7 separate regions of the Homo sapiens genome follow, and regions 2, 3, 4, 5, 6 and 7 are each linked to region 1. Evidence: promoter capture Hi-C in 16 types of primary human blood cells and fetal thymus (Javierre and others, 2016). All regions are on one chromosome and are shown on one strand. The core of a region is centred on a gene start or on the middle of the fragment in contact, and the rest is flanking DNA. Distances in the headings are between cores, read along the strand shown. Region 1 holds the start of EFNB2 (ephrin B2). Region 2 overlaps FGF14-IT1 (FGF14 intronic transcript 1). Region 3 has its middle 25 kb from the start of TPP2. Region 4 has its middle 6.8 kb from the start of TPP2. Region 5 overlaps TPP2 (tripeptidyl peptidase 2). Region 6 overlaps TPP2 (tripeptidyl peptidase 2). Region 7 overlaps TPP2 (tripeptidyl peptidase 2).

Region 1 (3,212 bases), core at 454-2,953:
TAAATTTTATATATATATGTGTGTGTGTGCATATATATATGTGTATATATATACGTATATATGTGTGTGTATATATATACGTACATATGTGTATATATGTATAAATATGTGTATATGTGTGTATACGTATATGTGTGTATATATATATTTAGTTTGAAGGCTTATTTAAAATGAAAATAAATTATGAAACTTTTCTGCTCTCAAAGATCTGTTTGGAAGAGTAAGTGTATTCAGTACTTTGTATGCCTTAATGTGTTTTCTATCTTAAACTAGTCTTCACAAGCTTTTACCACTCCAACTGAGATGTATACGTTAAGTTAGACTAATGTTTCAAAAACGGATACTTAAAAGCAACGTACCATAAAAATCTTCAGAAATTGTTACAAAGAAGAGTGAAAGAAAACAAGGTGTTTTACCATATGCATTTTTAAATTTAGCGTAGTGGATACTTTGTTTTAAAAATACATAATTTGTAGAATTACTGCCCAGTTTGTGTTTGAAACATAAATCCTGGGGTGGACGGCATTAAATTGAAAAAAAACGTGGGCATACAGTATATTTTAATTTTTCATACTGAATCGTACATTTGCACTGTGCCTTATTTCTACCGTGTTCTTCCTACTGTTGGACATATAAAAAGATTTTCCTTGGAACTGTGACTTGATTAGATGCTGCAGTATGCTGGATCCGGGTCGGTGGACCGCAGAGCGCTCGAGATGCGGAGAAGCAAAGCTGGCCGCTAGTGGGCGCTGTGGCTCCGTGGAAGTCACGGACGAGCGTCAGCACCGGCGCTCGACCGGGAAAGTAGCGAGGAGTTCCTGCCAGCTCTGCTCTGGGGTCTTGCAGACGCCGAGTGAGAAGCACATGCCTTGACTTTTCCATCTCACACCCTCTAAATCTCTGGTCACTTTGGGAAGCGCGCGTGTCTCCTAGAGGCTAGTGAGACGGTCCCCGCGTCGTGCCTGTGCCGGCGACACGCGGGGAAAGCTCCAGGGGCGCCACCTTCCCGGGGGGCCAGGAGGGAAGGGAGACGCCCGCAGAGAAGGCGGGAGGCGACGATGCTCAGGCCCTGATTAGAGCTGCAAATTCCGGCGCCGCGTCGCAGGAATCGTCTTGCAATTCCCGGCCCCACTGACTGAAACTGAGCCGTAGGCGATTGGTACCAAAATCAAGTGAGAAGCCCTCGCCGAGAGGCGTCGGGAGAAGCGCGCAGAAGCCGGGAGCTCTAAGGGTGCGCGCGGAGTGCAAGTCTTGCACGCGGGGCAGCGCCGCATCTGCGGAGAAGGGACGCCGAGCGGAGCCTGCTGCCTTCCGCACTGCTCGAGGGAAAGCCGCGCCCTCTGATTCCGCCGAGGGGGAAGGCGCCCCCGGGCGCGGAGACAGGTGGCCCGCTACTCGGCCGTCGCTGTTTCCACGTCTGCACCGCGCCCAGAAGGCCTCTCGCCGCCCCGGGGGCGCCCTGTGCACGCGCTGAGCGCTTCTCCTGCCCGGCTTCTGCTCCGCTCCCGCCGCCCGCGGGAGCCAGGGGCGGGGCTCACCTGTCAGCCCGAGCCCCGCCTCGCGGCACCCAATGTCGGGAGGGGATGGCGGACGGACGGACCGGCCGTCCAACCAGCGCGCGGCCGCGGAGCCGCGGGCCAATGGGCTTCGCGCGGCGGGGCGGGGCCCCGCGTTTATAGCGCTCTGACAGCGCGGCGGCCGCGCTGACTCTCCTCGGCGGGGACCGCGGCGCCGGCCGGAGCGAGGAGCTGCGCACGCAGCGGGTCCCGGCGCCCTCCCCGCACACAAAGGCCCGCGCGCGTCCGGAGCCCGCGGCGGGGACCGAGCTCCCTCTTTCCTGCCCTGGGGGCCGGGAGCCGCGCGGACTGAGAAGGCTCCTGCGCGCCCGGAGGCGCCCTACTCCGCTCCGTGCTCCGGGACATGGAACCGCGCCGACGCGGCGCCCGCGCGCTCGGGCCGCTGCCCGCTGCACTGGATCTATAGTCACAGGCGGCCCCGCTCGGGGCGCAGCGCCCGCCGCCCGCGCCGGTCGTCTCCGCTCCGGGTCTTTGTGTCCCAGCCCGCACCCGCCCCGCGCCCACCCGCCAGCCGCGGCCGGCCCGGCACCCTGGAGCCGCACGGGAGTCGGCCGTCCGAGCTGCGTCCGGCGCGGCGCCCCGGAACCCCGAGTCCGCCGCGCCGCCGCGCCCCGCGCGTGCGCTCCCGCCCCGCGCCCTGAGGGCCCCGGAGAGCGAGCGCACCTGGCCCGGCGACCGCTGGAGCTGCGCAGCGCGCCTCGGAGCTGCCTGCGGGCGCACGCCGTCTTCCCCGCCAGTCTGCCCCGGAGGATTGGGGGTCCCAGCCTGCGTCCCGTCAGTCCCTTCTTGGCCCGGAGTGCGCGGAGCTGGGAGTGGCTTCGCCATGGCTGTGAGAAGGGACTCCGTGTGGAAGTACTGCTGGGGTGTTTTGATGGTTTTATGCAGAACTGCGATTTCCAAATCGATAGTTTTAGAGCCTATCTATTGGAATTCCTCGAACTCCAAGTAAGTGGCGTCCGCGATCCCCCTATGTCCCCGCCCCGGGGTCCGCCGCGCCGTCCGGGCGGGAGGAGGGGTCAGTCCGCGGGGCCTCGGAGCCTGTTTCTGGAACCTCGGTTCCCCGTCCCCCACCCCCAACCCCCGCCCCATTTCACTAGGTGGAGACTCCTCGCTCGGCTTTCCAACCCGAGCCCCGCTGGAACGGACGGTCTCTCCGCCTTTCCTCCCCCGAACGCTCCCAGGCGCTAAAAGCTACTATCGGCTCGGGTGTCAAGTCCGGGAAGGTGTCCGATGGCGATACCTGACCCTCTCCTGTTTTCGAGGACGAAGGACATGGCCACAATCTAGGCTGGCCGGCACGCGGGGACTGGTGGGCTCTGGAGAGAGGCGGAGATGCTGCATTCGCGGGGAGCGCGGGCGGCGTGGTCCGGGGCCCGCGGGCGGGCGACCGGGGTGGCAGGACGCTGGCAGCGAAGCGCGTTCTGGAGAGGGGAGCCTGGAGTCGCTACGCTGCCCGCAGAGCCCTGGAGCCGGGGCGCCTTGGCACCGCGCCGCCAGCCCGAGGGTGCGCGGGGAGCTCGCCTGCTTCGCAGGAGAACTCGGGCGTCGAGCCCTTTCCTCCGCGCCGGGGAGACGGGCCTTAGGCTTCTCCCTGAGGGCCCGCCGCACCTCGGCCTCCCGCTTCGTTCATAAGCC
Region 2 (3,212 bases), core at 240-2,739, 4.1 Mb after region 1:
ACAGGTGGCTGCCTTGGCCCTCCCGGTCTGGCCTCCCGCTAGCGGGCGCCAGCTCTGGACCCGAGACCCATCTGAAGGAAAGGGAAGGGAGCTGGCGTTGCTGGTGATTCTGCCCAAGCTCAGGACTGGGAGAGAACGAGCCAAGTTCTGGTCTCAGCTTACACACTAGCTACTGGGAGACCCTGGGCGGGTCCTGAAGTTTTCTGGGCTTCAGTCCCCTCGGCTACTACAAGAAGGATATTGATTAGAGTAATCCCAGATCAGCCCCAGCTCTAATATTCTAGGTTCCCATAACGTTCACACCCAGTCCTGATTGTAAGTAAACTTCCCTCACCCCTTCCCTGTATCTCTCCCGGACTATGTTAACTATATATTTAAATTGTACTCTAAATTCAGAGACCATCAGAGATAAGAGGTTGACCTTAGCGATCACAAACAACCTGTTCCTTTTACAGGTGTGGCAACTCCTTCCCAGTGGAGGAAGCGACTGTTCCAAGAGCCAGTTTTGGAATTGTAGGCACAAACACAGGTAGAAGCTTTGAGCCTTGGGTGAAGAAACGCGTATTTTACTGGTGACACTAGGAAGAGCTCCTCATGCGCTTCATAGAATTGTGTGGTTGGTGCTGAAATAGATGGCATTCCATTTATCCATTATATTCCCCAGATACCTTTTCCTTAGACAGTTTTAAGATTTTCGGGGTAGGGGAGGGTATCTTCACTAGTTTATTTTTCCTTCTCTCATATCCATGCTATTGGGAAAAATCTTTCTTAAATCTTTTTTATAAACCTCATTTGTAAATTAAGAAGTTGAAAAAGATTATTTTCAGAGTTTATTACAACTCTGAAATTTATGAATTATTTCTTTTAGGTCCACGTGCTTTTTATCACTTTTTCAGTAACTACAATCTCAAAAAAACAAAAAACAAAACTTAGTAAACACTTAAAAAGTGCTGCTGTGTTTGAACTGTTGATGCTGGAGATACAGGGGTGAAGAAGAGTTCTTCCTTCAAGGAATTAGCAGGAAAGACAAAAGACAGGATCAATTATGATGTGGTGAACAATTCTGTGTAGGTGGACCAAGGTGCTATAGGGCCAAGGAAGAGGGGCATGGAAAGGTTTCTGGAGGGAATAAAACTCAGACTGAGTCATGAAGAATGACTAAGAGTTAGCCACGTGGTAAAGGCACTGGTTAGGCTGTCAAGGAAGAGAAAGAAGCATACTTTAAGCTTTGGGGGCGTCAAAGATTGTGGTGCAGACCGAGAATATCAAGTACAACTGAGAAATAGAGGGTGTTTCTAGGGAGTGGCAGGTAGTGAGTGGGGTTGCAAGGTAGTGAGGCACAGATCGTGAGCTCTCTTCTGTGTCATGATCATATCTACCCTTTAGACAACCATTATGACTACAGCGTGGAAAACAGCTCTGGGTTGGGCAAGGTTGAAGGTGGAAAGACCAGGGAGGAAGAGCAGTGAGCAGTGGTGAGCGGTCCAGAATAAGGCAGTGACAGGCACTAGAGAGGAAGTGAAGTCCATCCATCTTAGTGGCCAGTTTGAATTTGGGAAGGAAGTTGAAGGAGGAGTCTGGAATTTTCTGATTACAGGTTTTTGATTTGGACAGTTCTGGTGAGCTAGTCTTCTGGCCATTTGCCAACAGAACACTTCCATCTTCTTGAGACATGGTTGGCTGTCTTCTGACTGTTTATATTGAGGGGCCGAGGTAGCTTTTAACAGCAAGTAGGAGACTTAGACAAGCTTCTCTTTCTAGATTAAAATTTAAATGGACAGTTCTGGGAGAGTTGCTGTGGGATAAAAAGTTCATCTTGATTTCAAACCCGAAAATCCTTAGGACTGGGAAAAAATGCTTTACAATAAAGATATGCCAAAATGATTTTTTTAAACGATTATGTACAATTCTTTGTCAATAGCAGATGTTTTTATGGACACAATACTTTGTTCAGTTTGAGGAGTCAAGTAGTGCAATTAAAAGCCAAGTTTTCAGATTTACTATTCAGGTCTGGCAAGAAAAGAGAAGGAAGTATGAACTTTATTGAATTTACATATGTAAGTTTGCACACGTGCTTTTTTAGATAGGAATGAATGTAGTTAAAATGCCTTTTTTTCCTCCTGTAGCATTTTGTTGTCTGCACAATTATAGTGGATCACTGAAGTGTGTGGTAACCTTATCTGTAATGCTGCATCTTAAAGGTGTAGCTTGGGAGGGATTGTAATATCTGTTCTTTCCACTTCCTGTGTGGAGCACATGGTATAATATTGTACTTTAAGAAATATGAACATAAGAAGGCTTAAAGACTAAAAGAGAAATCATATCTCATAATTGTAGTCCTTTTTGTTTCAACAGCCACTTATTTGTAGTCTGAAACTCATCTTCTTTAGTTGTATTGCTGCTGTATACCAGGTGTTGTAACTTTTAAGCAAAGAAAGGACCCTGTCTGCTAGGAGAACTGAGTCAGTTTTCTACGTAAGCACTCAGTAGTAACCATCATTTGGCCTTAGCATTTTATTGTTGGGACAAATTGAAAGCAGTAACACAATATGCTCTTTCCTCCTTCATTGCTAAATGAGTTGATTTGTTTCCTGAGAAGTGATGTTTTCCATTAACTTGATTATTTTTTCTTGTACCTTTAAAAATTTTTTCAACTCACATGACAAGTAACATAAAATACCTCACATCTCAGACAAATAATAATGACTGTTAAATATTGGAAATACTTTTAATGAGATCAGTACCAAATGTTAGAGATATTTTAATGATGCAGTTAAGAAATTTGATATAGGATAAAAATTTTACATCATTATTGCTTATTATTATCTCTTTTCTAGTTTTCTTTTAAAATGTTGGGAATAATTTTAAACAACACAGTACTGAGGCCATTCTGGTACATGTGTGGCAGATGTGACTCTGTATGGGGGATACTAACTGTGACATGAATGCTATAGTTAGTATGTGGTCTGATATGCAGCCATAAAGTCCGCCCAGCTTTGTCAGACCGCTTGCCCTTTGTTGTAGCAAAGTGCTTTTCCAGTACTGATATTTCATCCCTTTGTCTCCTTCTCCCTGTATTTGTACTATCCGATTCTAGATTTTGTCCTTTTACATATTTTTTAGTCATGTTTTTCAAAAATTTTGTCATCAACTTACTCTTCAGGCAAGATCAGGATTAGTATTCAATTGGATTTACCTCTTTTACATTCATT
Region 3 (3,212 bases), core at 354-2,853, 4.0 Mb after region 1:
TTAGGGGATCAAGGTAGGGCACTCTCTCTTTCTCTCAAAATCTGGGGTGTGTGTAGGTCAGAAACTGCCAAAGCTAGATCTTCTGGGCCACTAAGACACCTGCTTAGTTCTCTTATAAGCATTTGACTGTAGTCATTTGAATTTATTTAAATCAATAGTTCTTAGCTTCCGTTCTCCCAGCCTTTTCCTCCTATTATGAAGTTAAAATATGAGACAACTGCCATGGTTATACCCAGATTTTCACAAAAGTTTCTCCTCCTTTCATTTTGGTAAAAATAATGCAGTGCAATAATTTGTATTCAATACAGCTATTAAGGTTCAACAGTAATGATTATTTACTGTGAAATTCGGATACAAGATATGTACAACTCCCCACTTCATCGTTCTCTTTCTCCCTCAGAAAAGCTTATTAACACGAATGAGAGTTTCTTTGTTTAAGGAAAACCTTTATTTCCCTCTGACGTGCAAAGCTCAATGACTTTGCCACTGCACTGAATCTTGAGTCCAGTCTCACGATAAGAAAACTCCCCACCTCTCAAACTGCTCCTGGTAACGCTTCATTAGGAGCAAACACTTTCTTGAGACAAATCTCACAAATGATCAATAGAGTTTCTATTGAGACTCTCAGGTTGAGAATCTCTGATCTAAATGTCTAAACTCAATGAGCATAGATGCACTATTTATTTTCACTTATTCAACCTTTCAAAATGTACTTAAAATATCAATATTCTTACAGCAAAGGCCACTAGCGGCTTCCTCAATTAATATCTGGATGCATGAAATCCTTTTTCATTCTTTGATACTTTTAAGCAAAAAGGACACACTGATTCTCAATCATGGAAAATAATAAAGGGTTTTTTTTTAGACTAAAATGTGTACTGCAAAAGAATTAAACGGTAATTTTTTTTTTGTTTCTAAAGTTGTTGAACTTCTCAATAGAAAAAAAGCAGGCAGAGTTTCTGCTGATCTCACTATGAGGCACAAAGACTGAAATTTAGTCTTGTATTGATATGTAAATATTAAAAAATGCATATGATTTTTTCCTTTATTCCTTCTCCAAATCTGATGACCGGCAAAGCTCTTAAATTGCATGCACATATTTATGTGTCACATGTAAACGCTGTTCATGTCATCTGGATATCAGTCAGTCACCAAAACGAAAAGTAGGTTTGACAGGCCAGATCTGGTGGCTCGTAAATGTAGATTTCCATCAAAGAACAAAGACCTGAGCAGTGTTCCGAACAAGGAAGATCCTGTAGATGTCTCCAGTTCGTCTTCTATATTTGCACTTGTGAGATCATTAGTCAGCTGTATTATTTATCTCCTACACAAAAATATTTCAAGGTCTGTGGGAGTTTTCTCCAGTTAAGGTTAATCAATTTTTATTACTCTCAGTTTATAGCTTCCCAGATGCTTAAGTTGGTGAAGACTTTCTTGTTTTTAATTTAAGAAAAGAGAGTTCCTTATTTGTCCCCTTTCAACCATTCTTGAAGACTTGAACTCACATGGCTATTAAAAATGATGAACAGAGAGACTTAGATTTTCACTGAATGTCTCTGAGAAACATCTGCAGCATAGCATATCATGATAAAGTAAGAATAAGGGAGGAATGTTAACAGTTTTAGGCTTTGAAACTTAGTATGTTTCCCCTGAACCTTTTGAAAACCCATAAGCTCTACATTTTTAAACTGAGGAGAATTACAATGTAATTTGTTTAGCTAAATAAATCATTTATACAGGAGGAATAGTATTTGTGCTAAGCTCTAATTTACTATGAAACAAAGAGCTAGATTTAATGTAATTGTGTTTCTGCATATAATAAAATCTACACATACATTTTGTCCTAAAAATAAGTTATTAAGGCTGGACGCAGTGGCTCACGCCTGTAATCCCAGCACTTTGGGAGGCCGAGACAGATGGATCACCTGAGGTCAGGAGTTCGAGACCAGCCTGGCCAACATGGTGAAACCCTGTCTCTACTAAAAATACAAAAAAAGTTTGCCGGGCCTGGTGGTGGGTGCCTGTAATCCCAGCTACTTGAGAGGCTGAGGCAGGAGAATCACTTGAACCTGGGAGGCAGAGGTTGCAGTGAGCCAAGATCACGCCATTGTACTCCAGCCTAGGCAACAAGAGCAAAACTCTGGCTCAAAACAAACAAATAAATAAATAAATATAAAAATAAGTTATTAAGCGAGCTCCTGGGCTTCCATGTGACTCTGGCTTGCTATTACAAATGCTCCAGACCACCAAACTGGATTCCTTTCCTAAAATTGCAAATGAGATTTCCCCACCTTACCTTGGTATCCTCAGATATTACCTTTGCCGATATTTTCTTCATTGTTTCCCAGAAATCAATGATGCAACTAATATGATCTGCAATTTTTTCACCAATAGAGGGAACCATCCACCTGCATTTCTTTGCTGTGTCCTACCAGAGCCCCCAGGGCCTCATGGCTTCTGTGGGTTGCTTTCCATCTCCTCCTCTGGCTCCTGAACGGGTCCTGTCCTCTGTGCTCCAGCTGAAGCAGTGCCGTTTGTCTTTTCCCCTGCTCTCGCCAATCCTGTCTCCAGCAGATCCCTTTCAGGATTTTTTTGTTGTTACCAGCCAGTGCCAGGAGTGAAGAATATAGATTTTGGTATCTGTGCCTGCACTCTAATTCCACTTCACAGCAAGCCATGGAGTTTGCCTTAACTTCACTTCTATATAAAGCTGCTTTAATTTTCTTAAAACTCACGACTTGCATTTAAATTGATTCCATCAGTCAACAAATATTCCCTATATACAGCATTTACAAGCTTCCTGCAAATGCAATCCAAATGAAGAGTTCAGGTTAAAAGGGGCTTTCAATACACCATCTCGGGAGACTCGGTGGTAGAATCTCATGGGATACAGGCATTCATATGCAGTCTGTAGTAATAGTTTCCTACTGTGGAGATTTTTCAACATCTTTAGATTGAAAAAAACCATCTTTATATATAAATGTCATAATTTTTTTGCATGACTTTCAAGGAAAAAGTAATGGATGATATTTCTGGAGTACTTAGCTCCAAGGCTTAATGGGGATGAAGGTACTGGAGGAGATATTTTCTTTGATACAGTAAATGAATTAGGAAAGTGTTGCTTATAGGGACATTTAAAAACATGGACATGCAGAAACTTGCAAAGCGGGTAAATACATGTGAGTTAGAGACTGAGAGATAGAGAGAAGAAA
Region 4 (3,212 bases), core at 382-2,881, 3.9 Mb after region 1:
AGGCCTTCTGGTGAAAGTGAGAACTGGACAATGTATGAAAAATATCTGCTTGAAAGATACCTTCCTGAAGGATCAGAGAGCTAACAGGGTGGTGAAGAGTTCGCGTAAAAGACATAAATTCAGAGACTTAAGCCTAACATTTGAGACAGCTTTGCCTTTCAGGGCATTTGCCAGTGCGTAAAGAGGTAGCTGAGAGACAGAATTTTTTTTTACAGCCTCCCAGGGCTATGGGTACAAGAGTGGAGGCCAGAGCCTGCCAAGAGTGGGAACAGCATGGAAAACCTATATTTTGGGTTGAGGCTGCAAAGTCCACACCCAACAAATAGGAATAAATTGAAAGTAAACTTAGACTGGCCCCAGAGGGATATCACATTATAGATAATATTAAGTCCTGAACTTGGATCAAGGTGATTATTCTCAATGGTATATGTTCATTGGAATCATCTGGAGAACCTTAAAAATATCGCTACTTGAGCCCACAGATTCCCAGAATTCCAGATATTCTGATTTAATTGGTCTGGATTTTCGCCTGGGCATTGAGATATTTTATATCTACCCAGATTATTCTAATGGGTAGCCAAGGCTGAAACCCACTCAGCTAGTTCTGCCTGGCAGAAGCAAAATACTTTAAAATACCTATATTTACTCCATTCAGGAAGATAAAGATATAGTTGAGCATTTGGGCAGAAAATCAGAAACTTAAAAAAGACAAAGCCAATTTAGAAAGAGCCAAAAAGAAATTTTAGAACTGAAAAATACAAAAGCAAAACAAAATTAGGAACTCAGTTTCTTAATTAAGAAACTCGGTTTCGTAATTAAGAATGAGTTTCATAGTTACTGTCATTTAGCCAAAAAGAATTATAAATTGCAAGAAAATACTAAAAAATACCTGGAAAAATAAAAGGATGAAAAACACAGAAGAGATGAAAAGAGTAATAGATGTAATAGTGGGAAGTTCTAACAAGCTTTTAAGAAATGAGAAAGAAAATGCTTTAGAAGCAATATCTGAGAGTTGAAAGCCTATATATTCAAAAAGTCTGATGGCCCTGAAGCAAGATAAATTTTAAAAAATCTACATCTGGGGACATCATAGTAAAAAAAAAATGAAAAGGCAAGAGTAGTTAGAGAAAAAAGATTACTTTCAAAGAAGCAGCAATTGATTGAGAACCGATTCCAAACAGAAATGAAGAAAACCAGGAGACAATGAGACGACAGCTCACCCATGCTGAAAGAAAATAATCGCCAACCCAGAATTCTGTAGCTAATGAAAACATCCTTCAAGAAAGAGAACATGATCAAGACATCTTCAGAGACGCAAAGGCCGAGGCAATGTGTCACCAGAAAGACAGCAAAAAGTAAATACTAAAGGATATTCTTTGGGCAAAACAAAAATGGGCCAGGCACAGTGGCTCACACCTGTAATCCCAGCACTTTGGGAGGCCAAGGTGGGTGGATCGCGAGGTCAGGAGATCGAGACCAGCCTGGCCAACATGGTGAAACCCCATCTCTACAGAACTACAAAAATTAGCCAGGCATGATGGCGGGTGCCTGTAATCCCAGCTACTTGGGAGGCTGAGGCAGGAGAATTGTTTGAACCTGGAAGGTGGAGTTTGCAGTGAGCCGAGATCGCGCCAGTGCACTCCAGCCTGGGTGACTGAGTGAGCCTCCATATCAAAAAAAAAAAAAAAAGACTCAGACACCCCAAAAGCTATATCGAAGTTGAATCAATTTCAGAATGGTGTCTTTTATTGTCAGTTAATGCAAGAAATTTTTTTAAAATGCCTTCCCAGGCCAGAGATGGGGAGATGTACTTTTAGCATTATACGGCTAGGGTTATTACTTTACACAGAAAAGAGCCGATGTTATGTAAATAGGAGAAATGTGATTTTTTCATATAGGAAAAATAGGTGCTTTTGACAGGAAATTAATACTTGGAGTGGTGAGGTGTGTTTAATTTCACGTATGTCACAAAACATGGTGAAATCTCTCACCATTTTCCTCTCATCTGTGGGACCAGAGCTGCCTTTTCTCCCTTTCTCCCCAACAGCTCTGAACAGCTGTCCTGGGGACCAGAGGCTCACCCTTCCCTCTGCAGAACCAGTAGAAACTGGGCAGAACAGTGAATCCATTTACCTCCAGAGGACACTAGAGACTGTAGGTTTAAAGACATAAGAGAATTATGTGGCAGATGGCCTTGATTATTTGTGTGGGGCAGATGGTATGTACGGGGAAACACAGAGCGGGGGCTTAGGCGGGAGCTTCCCTTCGTGGGCAGCATCTTGCATCTGCAAGCTTAATCCTGGGCACGAGGCCCAATTCTATGCTCCTCTTTGTTGCCTTCTCCAGCTGTGAGACATTCACTGGAATTTTCAGTAAATAACTTCTTAGGACCTCTGTGTTGATCAGGGATAGTCCAGGCTATGCTGTGGCAGAATACAAGCCCAAATTCCGGTGAGCTAAAAGACATTGCCCTTGTCTACTCATTGCAGCATCTCCATTCCTGGTTGGCTGAGAGCTCTGCTCCAAGCTGTCACACCTTTGGATTCAGGTTGAAAGGCTGCACTGTCTGGAATGTAGCTGGTCACCACGGCAGGAGAAACAAGAACATGGGGAAATAGGCATCAGCTTCCAGACCTTCCATCACTTCTGCTCACATTTCATTAACCAAAGCAAGTTTCATGGCCGCGGCCAAGTCCAAGGAGGCAGAAAAGTACAGTTCTATCGTGTGCCCATGGGGACAGTCTTCATCCATTCAGGCTGCTATAACAAAATACCGTAAACTGAGTGGCTTGTAAATAATAGAAATTCATTTCTCACAGTTTTGGAGGCTGGGACATCCAAGAGCAAGTTGCAGACTCAGTCTGGTGAAGGCCCATCTTCTGGTTCATAGACAGCTGTCTTTTTACTGTGTCCTCACAGGGGAAGGGGTGAGGGAGTTATCTGGGGCCTGTTTTATAAGGGCGCTAATCCCATTCTTGAGGGCTCCACCTTCAAATACCATCACTTTGGGGGATTAGGTTTCAACACATGAATTTTAAAGGAACACATATGCAGTCCATAGCAGGAACAATAACTTGGACTTTTGGATGGTCCTGATTGCCCCCACAGCCTCACTGATGTCCACTTTGTTTTCACCCTAGTGAAGCATTGGTAATGGAGTATCTATGAGGTGGGGGACTGGCAGGACTTATTTCCTGGTGCCAATGAATGAG
Region 5 (3,212 bases), core at 259-2,758, 3.9 Mb after region 1:
TCACTCAGGCTGCTGTGCAGTGGCGCCATATTGGCTCACTGCAACCTCTGTGTTCTCCTGTCTCAGCCTCCCTAGTAGCTGGGATTCAGGTGTGCACCACCATGCCCAGCTAATTTTTGTATTTTTAGCAGAGAGGGGGTTTCGACATGTTGGTCAGGCTGGTCTTGAACTCCCGACCTCAGATGATCCAAAGTGCTTGGCCTCCCAAAGTGCTGGGATTACAGGTGTGAGCCACCGTGCCCGGCCTGGAAATGTCCTTTAATACAGACACTTGGTCAAGAAGATGTCCTGTCCAGTTAAAAAACAAACAAACACGCACTTGGAAAAACTGTTTGGCATGACCTAGTGACATATCTCCATGATTCAGCAATTCTACTCCTATGCACACATTCTGGAGACATCCACACACATGTGCACAGGATACACACACATCACAGCAGAATGGATAGAATGTAGTAGGTACAAACCATGGCATATTGCACAGCAATGAAACTTAATAAATCATTGCTGCCCGTGACAACATGGGCAAGTCTCAGGAATCTGAAATCTCACAACACCAAGGGAAAAATGACGTATGATGAAATTTTATGAATGAAATGAGACTGTTTATGTAAAGTTCAAAACTAAACAATATATTTTATGTAGCCACACAGATATGGTAAAACTACACACAAAAAAGCAAAGGAATGATTATCACAAAAGTTGAAATAGGCTGTGATATAGGAGGATGCAGGAAGTTTCTGATGTACGGCAATACTCTTTATCTTGATCTGGGTGGGTACAATGGTGTTAGCTATACTATTCATAAAACTGTATATATGTGTTTTATGTATTTTATGTATGTATATTTTGCAATAAAAGGTTTTAAAGTTCTATTCACTTTTGTACTTTTATCTGCTCATGGGAGTACCATAGGTCATAAGTAGCTTACCACTGGTTTCTCAAGGAAGCCTAGGAATATCATCCTTAGAGAATGAGGCTACTAAAGTGTTCAAAGCACCTAACTTAACAGTTGATCTTAAACTGACAGAAAAATAAAAGTCTGTTAGCAGTTTATGGGCTATGTGGAAAAAACAGACTATAAACATTTAATTCATTTCAAAGCATGACAGCTGGGCGCGGTGGCTGACATTTGTAATCCCAGCACTCTGGGAGGCCGAAGTGGGTGGATCACCTGATGTCAGGAGTTCGAGACCTGCCTAGCCAGCATGGTGAAACCCAGTCTCTACTAAAAATACAAAAAATTAGCCGGGCATGGTGGCGGGTGCCTATAATCCCAGCGACTTGGGAGGCTGAGGCAGGAAAATTGCTGGAACCCAGGAGACGGAGGTTGCAGTGAGCCAAGATCACACCACTGCACTCCAGCCTGGACGACAGAGCAAGACTCTGTCATAAATAAATAAATGAATAAATAAATAAATAAATAAATGCACGACTACATCAAAGAAACTTGAAGACTTCATTGTGCTGCTTTCTGAAAACTATGTACTAAAGAGTTGCAGAGATGCAACTAGTCAGAATCCCAGTGATTAATAATTCTTCCTTTTATTGACTACTGCAAAATATCTAAACACCTGCACATCCCTGAAAAAAATTAAACTGAACATGTGTGTGAGTACATGTTATGGATGGATGGAGAAGAGAGTTCTGACTAAGAAGACTGGCGGAAAATTTGTATAAGAGCACTCCCATTGCCCCATCCCACATCCTGCCCAAACTTCACCAACCAAGCTGAACCAGAGAAAAGCTGACATGTCAACAAAGCAAAGAACAGGTGATATGGTTTGGCTCTGTCTCTACCCAAATCGCATGTCGAAATATAACCCCTTCGTGTCAGGGGAGGGATGTGGTGGGAGGTGACTGGATCATGGGGGTGGATTTCCCCCTTGTTGTTCTTGTGATGATGAATTATTACAAGATCTAATGGTTTAAAAATGCATGGGGGCTGGGCACGGTGGCTCGCGCTTGTAATCCCAGCACTTTGGGAGGCTGAGGCAGGTAGATCACCTGAGGTCAGGAGTCTGAGACCAGCTTGGCCAACATGGTGAAACCCTGTCTCTACTAAAAATACAAAATTAGCCGGGTGTGGTGGCAGACACCTGTAATCCCAGCTACTCAGGAGGCTGAGGCAGGAGAATCGCTTGAACCCGGGTGGCAGATGTTGCAGTGAGTTGAGATCGCGCCATTGCACTCCAGTCTGGGCAACAAGACCAAAACTCCGTCTCAAAAAAAAAAAAAAAAAAAAAAGCATGGCACTTCTCCCTTTGCTGGCTCTCTTTCCTGCTCTATCATGATGAGAAGACATGTCTTGTTTCCCCTTCACCTTCCCCATGATTGTAAGTTTCCTGGGACTCCCAAGTCATGCTTCCTGTTAAGCCTGTAGGACTGTGAGTCGATTAAACCTCTTTTCTTCATAAATTCCCCAGTCTCATGTAGTTCTTCATAGCAATGTGAAAAGGAACTAATACAAAAAGGATGAGACATAAAAATGAGTCTGCATGACATCACTCCAGGCCCCTTGCATGGTGTGGTTACCTGAATACCTACGGCCAGACTTCTTGCTCACTCCTCCCCTAAACCCCAGGCCAAATGGGCTAAGGACTTCTTTAAGGTAACTGGGCATCCTGAGGGAAAAAAATATAGTGTATACTGATATTATGGGGGTTCCCCTAAATGTTATCATTACCCTATAGTGAAACCCACCAAAAGACCCTACATAAGCAGAGGAGCTTCCAATCACCTTTTCTTGTGCCTTGCTAAAATAAGACAGCTAGGGATGATTAGACACCTAAACAAAATATCTAACATAAAAAGCAGAGAACAAGGAAGAGGAGGCAGAGAAAGAGGAAGGAGAGGGTGAAGAAAAAGGGAGAAAGGAGAGGAGGAAGCAGAATAGGAGACTAAGAAAGGAGAACAGGAGGAAGGGGAGGGAAGAAACAATGAAATAGAAAAAAATTAAAATTTTATCTCAGAGATAAAATGTTGCATACATGATACAAAAATATGCTCCCAGTGAACATGAAGGGGCTTTTGCAATTAAAAATAGGCAAAATTTTAAAAAATTCACACAAGGGTTACAATGTTGAGAAAATGCTGGAAATCTCTCAGGAAGGAAAAAGATTAAGGCAATGAAGAAAAGGTGGAAAAAAATTTAAAAATTGGAGGATCAAGTCAAGAGGTCCAATGTTCAATTAACAGGAGTTCCAGAAAAA
Region 6 (3,212 bases), core at 259-2,758, 3.9 Mb after region 1:
AAGTAGAGGAGATGAGGTTATACCATGAAGAAGAAAATGAAGTTAACATTAAAAAGGTACAGAGCCATGCACAGGACCCTTCAAAGTTGTAAGTGTGAGTATCTGAGAAAGGGAAGAATATTAGCAAAAGAGGGCTTCAAGAGGATGAAAGTTAAAGTAGAGAAAGAAATACAGTTAAGTAAAATAAAGAAGTGAGAGAAGAGGGAAGAATGAAATGACTCATGATAACAGGGTGCATGTTACGAGGACCGTAAAGTGATGTCTCAAAAACCAGATGATAGCTTGGTGATGGGAATGGGGGAGAGATGATCAACAAGTAAATACTCGAGGTAATTTCAAATAGCTACTACTATGAAGAAAAAAAGGAAGGTAACATTAGGTCAAGGCCATGACACTGGATTTGGCAGCAGAAAGACAATGAAGCCAACGAGGAAGGAGGGGAGTGGGGGTGCATCCTAGACACACTAGAATGGATTGAGGAGATGTGAAAACTGACCGAGTTAGTGAACATACGCAACCAACAGTAAGTTTTGCAGATGAGATGCAAGTCACTAAAGAGAATAGCAAAATTTCAGCAAGTCTGGGCGTCTGTCGGGTATGTATATACAACTGAGGATGGCTTCAGAGTGCTTGTGGAACTAGTAATTATAATGATAGACAGATTGTCAGATCTAAATTGCCTGGGAAGAGAAGTGAGGATGCAGTGCATCTGACAGTGAAAAAACACCAGAGTCTGTGGGTTGCATATCTCAGAAGAACTGTGAGGGAGACCTAACCAAGGAAGAGCCACAAAGGACAGCACAGGCATGCTCAGAGTTGAGACTTCAGGCATGGTGCAGTGAACAGCATTAACATCGTCACAGATGTGAACACAGGAACGGGGGTGTGCGGCCTACGAGCCAAACAGGACTTCAAGAGGATGAAAGTCCTCTTGAACACAGTTATCATCTAACCACTGCAACTGTTCTTTCTTCCACCGTGACACTCAATCCACTTATGAAAAACATCTCATACTCTTCACTGGCTAAGGTTCTATGGCTAAACAACTGTCAAGGAACACTCACCCAGAATTTGGCCAGTGAGTTGCTTCTCCGTAACTGTAGTTGACAAGATCACACTTATGATTTATAACTTCTATCATCTATTAAAGAGATTAAGACTCTAGTTTAGGCAGCAATTTACAGAAACAGATTAGCCAGTAAAATAAGGGCATATATATAATCCTATAGTTTCTTAGCCAATCATATTCTAATTTATAAGTTACCTCCAGGCATATCACCATATACCTGGACATATAAGCACATAAACACAAAAAGGTAGGAGGAGACACATAAAAAAGTAGTCATTAAAAAAAAAAACAAAAAACTAGCATTTCTAGAAAAGAGTGGGGTTAGAGGGGGACAGAGGTAGAGGGAATGGAATGGTCCTTCCTAGGTTAAAAAATCACTAAAATTAAATATACTTTCCTACGTTAAAATGACGTACAGAATGTTAGCTGAGGTTTTAAATTCCTCTTAGGCTGATGGAGAAAGCTGGCTAAGAGGTCTTTCTTTTTAAGTATCTCAAAATTGCTTGTTAGGAGATTTGCTAGAAATGACGAGTATGAAGTAAGTAATTTTTTCACAAAGGTTAGGCCAAATCCTAATAATATTTAATAAAAATAATTTAAAAATAAATTAGTAAATATTTTTGCTTTGTTAAAAGTCCTGTACACTATATATAGTTCAATGTATTCTTGGTAAACTAGGAGCACTTATAAACCTAAAAATATCCAAGATCATTAATCATTAATCTTCTGAATCAACAACTCACAAACACTCACAGCTCTTATGAGGCCTGTGCCTGTTTCCATTGTGCTTAGTCTTGTATCACCAATCTTGATGGAAAGAATTTGAGCACCAGGAGCTACCCCATTCCGTTCAGGTTCTTCTGGAAAGTGTCCAGCAGCTATACTAGCTACATGTGTCCCATGAGCTCCTAGAGACACAAAGGTGGGGAAATGACAAAACATTCTCATGGACTGAAAGTTTATTCAATTCAATTTGCATATTATTAATCATGATAAAAAGAATACACATTACTCTGCTACCCTGTTCATGGAGAGCAAAAACTCAAGTCACAAAGGAAAGTATTTGCAACATGTATAGCTGACAAAGAGCTTTATATCCAGAATATATAAAAATCTTTCAAATTCACAATAAAAAAAGGGAGAATCCCCCCTTCAAACATTTGAAAAAGCATTTTATAAAAGAAGATACCCAAAGGGCAAATAAACACACGAAAAGATGTTTAATTTCATTCGTCATCTAGGAAACGCAAATTAAGCCACAAAAAGATGCTTCTACGTACCTTTTAGAATTGCCAAAATATTAAAGGCTGACAAAGCAAGTGTGGATGGAAGTACATATCATACACTGCTGGCTGGAGTGAAAGCTGAACACTGCCACAGCCTATGAGCCAGCCATCCTACCTCTAGGTACACACAATACCAAAATGTGTGCACATGTAACTAAGACACCCACAAAAATGTTCATGGCAACACTGTTTATAAAATTCAAAAACTTAAAAACCACCACAAGATTCATTAACAGTAAATGGTTACATGTACATCAATTCATAGAACTGACAATTATACAGCAATAAACTACTACTATGTACTATGAGATAAAGCTCACAAAAATAAGGCTGAACTAAAGAAGTCACATACAAAAATGGATATTGAATTTTCATATAAATGAAAAAAAGGCTGAACCATCTGAAACTGCCACTATTTTATCATTTCCGATCACAAAAACAGCAACATCATATGGTCCAAACTAATGTGGCAATGGAGATCAGGATAGTAGTTAACTGTAGGAGGTGGGAGGGTACATTACTGATTAGGAAGGGGCATGATGGGAGTTTCATTATGTTTCATTTCTTGACCTGAGTTGTAGTTACAAAGAAGTGTCCACTTTGTGGTAATTCAAAGAGTTGTACAACTTGTGATTTGTATCTGTTTTTGTACATGTTATATATAAAGTAATACTAAAACAAAAAACTAGCCTTTTAGTGAAAAAGTTTCTTAAAAGACATGAATATAGAGAAATATCCCACTAGTCTCAGAAAAACAATAATACAAGCACAATGATAAATGACAACTGGCACTGGGCCTTAATGTTTGGGGACTATAGTGTGTTGGAGCTCCAGGAGAAGTAGGCAGGCATCTCTAT
Region 7 (3,212 bases), core at 374-2,873, 3.9 Mb after region 1:
ATTGACTGTCTCTCATATATTTATTCTATAGTTCATATTACGCTAATTACTGTAATAACTGGTCACAATAAAACCAGTATTGCTATATCACAGTCCTAATCCTTTCTAGTTATCTTGTCACTATGCAATATCAAAGTGATGCTTAACAGTGACATTTTAAATATCACTTACTTGAATACAATTTTTCCAGTTTTCTTTTGTTGGTTTTTCTTCCACAAGTTTAGTTGCAAATTTAAGGCCTCTCCCATACATTTTATTTACTAATGCATGTTTATATGCAAATGTCAAAACCTACAATGTAAAACATGATAAAGCTTGTTTATAAAATAATTTACATTTTAAGGCATTAGCTTTAACCATAAAATTAAGGCTTTAACAGAAGTGTAGCTTTTGAAATGAATATGGTACATAGAGTACATTTTTAAAAACTTTGAAAAAGAAAATTGGTGTCTTCAAAAGAGCTGAGTATTCCACAGAATGAACCATCTGTTTTTTGGGAAGAAAACTAATATGAGAAATTATTAGCCGTGGAAATCCACTTAAAAATACCTCTTCATGCACAAGAAACCAGAGCTAACATAAATAATTACAAAGATGCAAATCAGGATAGAAATAAAAAATGCCAAAATTGCAAATGAGGATAGAAGTAAAAAAACAAGTATTAGATTATATAAACATGGTTTCTTTGGTACAAGTTTTTACCTGTAATTACTGCATCTGTCAAATATACTTATAATCATTTATATATATTTTTGGTCTCTACTTTGGAATGTGGAGAATGTACTCAAAGAAAATCCTGACACTGATTTGTATTGTAAAGGCAACTAAAGTATTTAACAATTGTTGCCATAGACACAGTAAACACAGTAAACAGGTAATAGAATGCATAGCCCCTAATATAGTAGTAGTATTGCAAAAATAGAATGATCTATAACAATTTTATTATATGTTCATCAAGTGTTTGTCAATCTCTGTTACATTCCTCAAAGACAGAAAGCAGGTTCTTATTCATCTTTATGTTTCCAGTAGTAAGTAGTGTTTGGCACATAGGCCTTCAATAATTGTTTGCAATAACAGCAAATATTGTTGGGGACTTTGCATGTACTTAATACTCATTCATCACAGCCTAAGGCAGGTCGTGTAGATAAGAAACTAAGGTATCAAAATTTTGTAAGTTGCCTAAGGTCATACATAAAAGTGGTAGAGGCAGGAGCCAAACTCAAGGGCTCTAATTTCAGATTCAAATTCCTGACCTCTGCTGCAATACTGGCTCCTTCAGTTTCCCAAATATAACTGAGTAACTGAGTACCTTCTTTAAATGCACCACTGTACTGTGTTGGAAAAATCTGAACCATATAAGAATTTTCTTCCCACTTCCAGGGTTCTTTACTGCAAATTACCAGTTAATTCTGAGAACAAGCACCTGTCTACTAAAACAAAATGATGGTCTGTGATACGCGAGGGGAATCCTACTGACTCCATTTACTTTATTTTATTTCCACAGGAAAAGAAGATTAATAACTTGTATAAACGCTATTGCAAGAATTATAGTAGAGAGCTAAAAGAGATTTAAAATGTTTTTGTAACCAAAATCCAAAAAAGTTCATCAACGATGCTTTTATGAATTGGGTTTTAAAACTGATTAGCTACAAATCAAGATGATAATTACTGAGAAATTCAAGAGTTTTGAGGAAAATAAGTAACAACTAACCAGTATGTCTCCTCAACCTGCCCCCAATCTCCTACCACCAACAAATTAGCATATAACTAGAGAAGGGTGGGCCTGAAGGCATTTTCTAGAAGACTTTCTTAATTTAGCTACATACATAACTGGTTTAACTAAAAGCCTACTACACATATTCTCAAACTGTTTTTAAAATTATTGTGGTTTAACAGCCAGTTTGCAGTACCATAAAATAATGTTTTTTAAAAAAAGGTGAGACAAACATGAAGTACTAGGCTAAACATGTCATATTCAGAGCCCAGCGTAGATTCTTTCCATTTATCTTCTTCCTCTTTTAACCAGCAATGGGGCACAAGAGAGGTCTGTGAGGTAACCCCAAGAACTTTGCTGAAACAAGAAGCAGAAACGTTACCTTATTGTCAAAGAGATCAGTCCATTTAGTAGTTTCCCAAAATGTTTCTGCCAGAGAATCCAAAGGACTTTCTCCTTCCTCCTCCTTTCCTTCTGCATCAGTGGAAATGGCTCCGTCTTGAGCCTGGGTGTGAAGAAGATGGTCTGCCAGGGCACAACCTTTCCTACAAAGGGCATCTACGAGGGTGGATTTTTGTTTGTCCATGTCACTGTACAGCAAATTAAAAAATATTTCAGATATCAGTAAAATGTCTTTAAAAGTAAATTCTTATCTGAATTTAAATTCATGTATTCTTTTGCCTAAGATTTATAATGCAGAAATACTGTATATCCAGGTACGTACAATTGTATTGTACATCAAATATGATGCCTTATTAATAAACATCAAATGAGCTACTATATTACACATATAGATTAAATGAGTTAGGGTAGCTGCACCTGGTTGAAACGGAATGCCAGAAGCAACAGAGTTGAAAGGTTAATCACTATTCTAAATTTTTTTAGCTATATAACTCTTAATCAGGTAAACGACTTTTGAGTTTTCAGTTTTCTTATAAATAGTAATCATTACACATTTGTCTATGTGTATACCCAGAGGTTATGTCTTAAAACTTTCAGTTCATGACTAGGACAAATAAATGTAATGCTTTACTCTGAATGTGCCAGCAACTGTCTCAGCATTTTAACATGTTAATTCATTCACATTCAAAACAATTCTGAGTAAGAGACTATTAATTACTGCCATGTTGCAAAGGAAGAAACTGTGGCCCAAAGAGACTATGCAATTTGTTCAAGGTCCTCCAGTTAGGAAGTGGCAGATCCAGGATTCTAAGCTTAGCAGTAGAAATCTGTAATCTGTGCTCTTAATCACTACGGCACATTGCCTTGATCCAGGGCAGACATCTTTGTTTTCTTCAATGCATTCCACGTGCCTAGGACAATGCCCGGCACAGAATGGAAACTCAATAAATCATTGCTGAATGAAATACAACCACCACCTACACTCCAGGGAAAAGTGTTAGTCTCTAGAATGTGTGCTTATTTGAGGCATTCTGTCCAACTTATGTCAGATACACGTGAAAACAATGAGGACTAAAAGTACTGAGAAAATGATGAT

The links. Contacts are between HindIII fragments. The CHiCAGO score rates a contact against its expected background, and 5 or more counts as called.
Region 2: a fragment that was not itself captured here is called in contact with the fragment with the promoter of EFNB2 in region 1 in 1 of 17 cell types (naive CD8 T cells); the score reaches 6.0 in naive CD8 T cells.
Region 3: a contact is called between a fragment that was not itself captured here and the fragment with the promoter of EFNB2 in region 1, in 2 of 17 cell types (naive CD4 T cells and monocytes). The highest score is 6.0, in naive CD4 T cells.
Region 4: a fragment that was not itself captured here is called in contact with the fragment with the promoter of EFNB2 in region 1 in 2 of 17 cell types (total B cells and total CD4 T cells); the score reaches 7.0 in total B cells.
Region 5: a contact is called between a fragment that was not itself captured here and the fragment with the promoter of EFNB2 in region 1, in 1 of 17 cell types (neutrophils). The highest score is 8.3, in neutrophils.
Region 6: a fragment that was not itself captured here is called in contact with the fragment with the promoter of EFNB2 in region 1 in 1 of 17 cell types (monocytes); the score reaches 5.3 in monocytes.
Region 7: a fragment that was not itself captured here is called in contact with the fragment with the promoter of EFNB2 in region 1 in 1 of 17 cell types (monocytes); the score reaches 5.3 in monocytes.

Annotation. Positions count from the first base shown.
Region 1 is chr13:106,534,153-106,537,364 of GRCh38, reverse strand. EFNB2 (ephrin B2) reads left to right here and starts at 1,703. Exons shown (of 5, transcript NM_004093.4): 1 at 1,703-2,522. The coding sequence starts at 2,401. RefSeq lists an enhancer at 606-675 and a silencer at 1,256-1,915. The HindIII fragment of the contact is 2,990 bases long and covers 286-3,212 here.
Region 2 is chr13:102,391,075-102,394,286 of GRCh38, reverse strand. FGF14-IT1 (FGF14 intronic transcript 1) reads left to right here. Exons shown (of 4, transcript NR_036486.1): 2 at 456-529. It also overlaps a transcript of FGF14 not described here. Among named protein-coding and RNA genes, the nearest start is that of FGF14-IT1, 1.8 kb to the left of the region's middle. The HindIII fragment of the contact is 522 bases long and covers 1,229-1,750 here.
Region 3 is chr13:102,570,480-102,573,691 of GRCh38, reverse strand. No RefSeq gene overlaps it. Among named protein-coding and RNA genes, the nearest start is that of TPP2, 25 kb to the left of the region's middle. The HindIII fragment of the contact is 2,391 bases long and covers 408-2,798 here.
Region 4 is chr13:102,588,550-102,591,761 of GRCh38, reverse strand. No RefSeq gene overlaps it. Among named protein-coding and RNA genes, the nearest start is that of TPP2, 6.8 kb to the left of the region's middle. The HindIII fragment of the contact is 1,327 bases long and covers 968-2,294 here.
Region 5 is chr13:102,608,428-102,611,639 of GRCh38, reverse strand. All of the region lies in intron 2 of TPP2 (tripeptidyl peptidase 2), which reads right to left. Among named protein-coding and RNA genes, the nearest start is that of TPP2, 13 kb to the right of the region's middle. The HindIII fragment of the contact is 7,733 bases long and covers 1-3,212 here.
Region 6 is chr13:102,625,777-102,628,988 of GRCh38, reverse strand. TPP2 (tripeptidyl peptidase 2) reads right to left here. Exons shown (of 30, transcript NM_001330588.2): 7 at 1,823-1,977; 8 at 1,065-1,141. Among named protein-coding and RNA genes, the nearest start is that of TPP2, 30 kb to the right of the region's middle. The HindIII fragment of the contact is 6,147 bases long and covers 1-3,212 here.
Region 7 is chr13:102,673,375-102,676,586 of GRCh38, reverse strand. It overlaps TPP2 (tripeptidyl peptidase 2), which reads right to left. Exons shown (of 30, transcript NM_001330588.2): 28 at 2,097-2,304; 29 at 172-291. Among named protein-coding and RNA genes, the nearest start is that of METTL21C, 20 kb to the left of the region's middle. The HindIII fragment of the contact is 2,614 bases long and covers 317-2,930 here.